Regions from separate parts of the Homo sapiens genome. Here region 2 is linked to region 1. The links are contacts of gene promoters, found by promoter capture Hi-C in blood cells and fetal thymus (Javierre and others, 2016). All regions are on one chromosome and are shown on one strand. Each heading gives the region's core, a stretch centred on a gene start or on the middle of the fragment in contact. The rest is flanking DNA. Distances are from core to core; before and after follow the strand shown.

Region 1 (2,962 bases), core at 161-2,660:
AACATTCTTACAAATGGGCCTTCTATTAAAAAGCAAACTATTGCTAATTCCATGGCTTTAAGTGGAGTACTTCCAATCACTTCCTCTATCCAGAAAATCCGTGACACTACATGCCAGCTACTTTGCATATTTATAACTGTTTAATAAACTATTCAAAATTAGCATCTAAAATAATTATACTTTGGACACACGAAGGCATATATTTGGTGAGAACATTGTAATTTTCATTTTGTAAACTATATATTCTATATTCAAGTAATAACACAGCATTGCCTATACAGAACTGAGGCCTGCGCTGAGACCCAAAACTTGTCTTTTCCTAAATGCACCACTACGAAGAGCTAATAAGAGGTCTGTCCAGATGCTAAGACCAGGTACTTCAAAATCTCCATCCTGCGCTTTACAGGTCTCCAGGGCAGTTAGAACTTTATCTTTCAGAGGTGGAGGGGCCTGACAGAGGCTTTGAAACCTATTGTGCAACTCCTCCCAGGGCACATCTTGGGACTCAGTTCCAACCCAAATGCCTTTCTGAAGGTCATAGTGCAAACGTTGACCCCAGTCTGTTAGCAGACCCAGATAGACAGGAGACAGCGCTGGGTGGCGGCTAGTCACTAAAGTCAAAAGCCCGGCTGGGAGGGCGCGACAAAAGGCAGCAAAGACTTCCGAATTCCCCAGAAGCCAGTGGACTAGCACTTGGCTCCCCTCTCCAGGTGATTTGTGGATGCCGGGTTCCAACTCTTCTTGGGGCCGACGAGACAAAGGCGGCTGCAACAGCGCCACCGCTATCACCTTCAGGAAGTTGTTCTGAGGCAAGCGCTCCCACAGGCTGCTGAGAAACCTGGCGGGACGCTCCGCTTCGGCCTTCCCCACCTCCTGCAGACGCTCCAGCAGCAGCTCCGCCTGGGTCTTCATCAGAGAGTCCTCCTGGAGATTTGGGTTCTCTCTATAGCCATTGAAGCGCAGCATGTGCACCGCAGACCGCCGGCGGGCAAGGCGGGCCAGGCTCTCTTGGAGTGTCTCCTCATCGGCGTCCCGGACGCCCGGGCCGGGAAAGAGTTGCTGCACCAGGTGGTAACGAGCTGCATCCCCGAGGGCCCGGTTCTCCAGCAGGCGCAGAGAGAGCAGGACGTCACAGTGACCGAGGGCCTGGAAGTTCGCTAATCCCGGAACTGGACCCCGCCCAAAGCCGCCCTCTTGCCTCCACTGGTTGTGCAGCCGCCGCTCCAGAGCCGTGCGAATGGGGCCATGCCGACCAAAGCGCCGATGGATGTGGCGCAGGTAGCGCGCCCACTGCAAGGCCCGGCGCACGGTGGCGGGGTCCCAGGTGCTGACGTAGGTAGTGCTTGAGACCGCCAGAAGCTCGGAAAAGCGATCCAGGTGCTGCAGAAGGGATTCCATGAGGTGCGCGAAGGCCCTACTTCCGCTTTCACCTTGGAGACGGCGACTCTCTGCGTACTGATTGGAACATCCGCGAAATGATACGCCTCTCTGCAATGCTATTGGTCGAAATGCATGTCAATCTCCCAGCGTCTTTATCCGTGTTCCTTGACTCTGGGCAACTTAAAAGCCCTAATACTTTTACTTTCGCCACACAAAGAGGTTCTTCTTAGTGGAGGGAGAGCAGATGTAGGGCATCCTACCGAGAATTTCCGGAACCACGTGCGAGATGATGCCAGTCATGAACGTCTCCGCGCTTCCTTTCGCTTTGGAAATATCCTTAAGTAGAAATTTTCTGAGCTTTGCCTAAAACTAGAATCTGTGTTGAGGTTTTTCAAAATTAAGTAACGCCAGAGACATACTGTGACGTGAGGAAACGCTCTTAAATGAAATTTTAAGATCTATTTGAGAAACATGTACTAAAAATGTACTGACCTCCTATTAATGCCAGGCGCTATGCTGAATTCTGGGCCTTCACATTGTCCTTCCATTATTAGAACTGAAGCCCAGATTATTTGAAACAAAAAATAAACTTCAATAATTTATTAAAATTTGCAAAGGAACAAAATTTTACTTCACAATTGTACATTTCGTTTTCGTAATTTTTAGGACAAAATAGCTTAATTGACTCTTCTGTCATACAAATAATCAGCTGAAGGAAATGGCATTTAAGAGCATCGAACAATAATAAATGTTTGATTAAATAAAAACCGTGACAAGAGAGTAGGGAGGAGAAGGTCCTATGTCGCTCACTGATGCACTTAACAAACATTTGTCAACTCCTAGGAGTTGCATTCTGTACAAAATGCACAACAATTCTTACTTAAGTTCATAATATAGTAATTCATTTGAGCTGAATTTCCTTCCAGTCCTAAAGACACAGCCAAAACTATTCGAAAAGTGGGGGAAGGTGTTTTGTTTTGTACTTTAACAAAAAGGGGAAGAGAAACAAATTTAAAAGAGGGGAAGAGTCATTTTTCATTTATTAAAATAAGCATTCCTACACCTTTTAGAAAGTAAAGCAGTGATGTGCATGCTGTTAATTCAGATTTATGCATTTATTTATTTATTTTGAAACGGAGTCTCATTCTGTCGCCCAGGCGCGGCCAATTTTTGTATTTTTAGTAGAGATGGGATTTCACCTTATTGGTCAGGCTGGTCTCGAACTTCTGACCTCAAGTGATCCTCCCGCCTCGGCCTCCCAAAGTGCTGGGATTAGAGGCGTGTGCCACCGCGCCCGGCTATTATTTGATTTTTATTAGTTATCTCAAACTCTTACTTGGTCCTGAAATCGTTATTTTATTTTATCCTAAGGATACTATGAATCTTAAAATTCTTTTTCTTGGCTACTACAAACTTAGAACCAAGTGTGCAGCCTGCCTTTAGCAAATGTACAGGCATCACTAATTCATTTATTTATTCTTATATTTAACACCTATTATGATACATAGTATGAGGTGCTACAGATTTAGTAGTAAAATAAATGCAGTCCTAGCATGAGTGGAGAAGTTCATCTTGTACCATT
Region 2 (2,759 bases), core at 88-2,587, 67 kb after region 1:
TCTCTCTGCCAGAACAAGAAAGTATGGTAGATGCAATAAAAGGTTTTGTATGAAAAAGAAAATAAAATCTCAGCTGTGATTAATCTGGAGTCATTCATTGCTGGCTATACAGCTAAATGATTTTATATCCCTTAAAATTTATTGTTCTAAATTGCAAACATAATGCTAGAATTAAACAGAGAATATATTATGATGAGATGGGAAGAATATAAGTGGCATGATGTAGAAAGAAATAATTTTTTTATAGGTATGTTGCTGCCTGAGACTAAAGGAAAAAGAAAAGTTAGTGGTAAAGTCCACTTCCTCAGGATTTGTAAAATATAGGTAAAATATATTTAAGCTTTAAATACACTAATTTTTTTATTTACTTTGTAATTGCTTCCTGAGGTTGAATTATTTCTCAGTATAAAATTAAATCCCCCTGTCACTATTTTTTAAGTCTCTGACCAAATAGCCAAATTATTCACCTCCAAATCAGAGACAATGAAATGTCTTGCTTAATGTTTTTTGTTTTTTTTTCCACTGAGAGTTTCTGTTCTATACTATCTTCCAGAGATATGCCTAAATCGGGCTTCAATGCCATAGCAATACATGTTGGTAAATCATATAGAATAAAAAGAATGGTATGTAAAGGAGCTTGACTTTTATTTTTCAAATAAAACTCATCACAGGAGACTTGATATGGGCTACATTTGCAGATGGGGGTGGGGGAGCGGAAAGCAGCAATGTGAAAAATTGGGCAAGATAGGGAGTGAGTGATGTGCCTATGGAACTTATCTAGATCTTCATGTCTAATTGAGCCCATCCCATACATGGCACTTGTACTTGTAAACCCAGAAAATCGGAGACAAGTCTCAGTTAATTTAGAAAGTTTATTTTGCCAAGACTGAGGACGTGCGCCCATGATACAGCCTCAGGCAGTCCTGATGACATGTGCCCAAGGTGGTAGGGGCACAGCTTAGTTTTATACATTTTATGGAGACATGAGACATCCATCAATATATGTAAGAAGTACATTGGTTTGGTCTGGAAAGGCAGGACAACTTGAGGCAAAGGCAGGAAGACACGAAGTAGGGAGGATGCTTCCAGGTCACTGACAGATGAGAGAGAAATAGTCGCATTCTTTTGAGTTTCTGATTAGCCTTTCCAAAGGAAGCAGTCAGAAATGCATTTATCTCAGCCATCAGAGGTATAACTTTGAATAGAATGGGAGGCACATTTGTCCTCAGCACTTTCCAGCTTGAGTTTTCCTTTTAGCCTAGTGATTTTTGGGGACCCAAGATATTTTCCTTTCACATACTCAATGGTAAAGTAGTGCTGGGCACAATAAAAAATATGGCCCAGTGGATCATATGGCACTAAGTTCATGATAAACATTTAATGTTTCATGATTACTGGTTCCCATGGTAGAAATTCAGTCTCCATCAGACAACAAGAACAAGCGAGGAACATTTGTGTCGTGTCCTTTCCTAAAAGGGCAATGTTCCTACCTGACCCCTACTACTAGATGCTGAAACTTTGTTTAGTTGGCAGAACCCCTTTCTGCATTTTCATGAGATTTATTCTCTACCCTCCAGAATGTGTGTATTTTATGAAACCGTCTGGTTTCCCTACTATTCCTGCTTTGCAGTATCAAATCTCCAATATCAAATATTGTAAAATAGAAGAGGAGCTTGATGACCTGTGATGTTGAAATATCCATGGTCCCTGTAGGTTATGTCACAGGGCTGGAGATGGTGTATAGGATAGTAAGAATTCTGTTGTTACTGTCAAACATATGCAAACTGATTCTGGAATTTTCTACTTATAAGAATAAAGAAAATTCCATTCTCCAAACCAAGAGATGAATGTTAAGTACCAGGATATTGAGTGATAACACTTCATTGAAAAGACCACATCTGTAACATCGATTCTGATTAAATATGTTACTTCATTGTAATCTTCCCACTGTTTCCAAGTCATGTCAATCTTTTTTTACTGATTTTCATTGAGATGTGGTAGAAGTCACTTTTATTTTTTGCAATGTTCAGGTCATTAATAACAGCATGAATCTCTGACTTTTTAAATAGGTGTGCTTTTTTTATTTGGTACTTTTACCACAAAAGAACTTATTCCATGTGTCAAGGATAAAAATTATGACATTTTTTGAGAATATCCATGCAAATTGCACATTCAGGTAAAACTATAAAAATAACATCTAATGTTTGCAAAAGTGTACTAGTTATAGTGTAAAGTAGGTTTAGGTAAAAAATCTAACTGTCACCTGATTCCTCACAAAGCATTTCCCTTTTCTGAATGCATAGTAAACAGATCAGGTCCCTTTGGAGATTGGAAGGAAGCTTTATATAAAGACTTGAGATCATTACTGCCTTCATTCAGTGAGCTCTGGGTCTATAATTTGGCTCTAGTCTGGGAATTGGGCAATCAGAAAATTTGTTGCTCTTTTTGTTATACAAAGAAACCCAAATACTGCATGTTCTCACTTATAAGTGGTATCTAAATGATGAGAACCCATGGACACATACAGGGGAACAACACACACTGGTGTCTTTCAGAGGGTAGCGGGAAGGAGGAGGGAGAGGATCAGGAAAAATAACTAATGGGTACTAGGCTTAATACCTGGGTGATTAAATAATCTGCACAACAAACCCTCTGACACAAGTTTACCTATATAACAAACCTGCACTTGTACCCCTGAACTTAAAATAAAAGTTAAAAAAATAAGAATTTAGGGAATTGACTTTCAATTTACTTCCCAA

Evidence for each region. The method cuts DNA at HindIII sites, captures the fragments that hold promoters and counts their contacts. A CHiCAGO score of 5 or more calls a contact.
Region 2: a fragment that was not itself captured here is called in contact with the fragment with the promoter of FANCF in region 1 in 2 of 17 cell types (naive CD4 T cells and non-activated CD4 T cells); the score reaches 5.9 in naive CD4 T cells.

The regions. Positions count from the first base shown.
Region 1 is chr11:22,624,413-22,627,374 of GRCh38, forward strand. FANCF (FA complementation group F) reads right to left here and starts at 1,411. Exons shown (of 1, transcript NM_022725.4): 1 at 1-1,411. The coding sequence starts at 1,398. The coding sequence ends at 274. It also overlaps a transcript of GAS2 not described here. RefSeq lists enhancers at 301-460, 471-520, 901-1,110, 975-1,874, 1,201-1,390. The HindIII fragment of the contact is 15,033 bases long and covers 1-2,962 here.
Region 2 is chr11:22,691,458-22,694,216 of GRCh38, forward strand. The region is part of intron 3 of GAS2 (growth arrest specific 2); the gene reads left to right. Among named protein-coding and RNA genes, the nearest start is that of GAS2, 26 kb to the left of the region's middle. The HindIII fragment of the contact is 1,999 bases long and covers 339-2,337 here.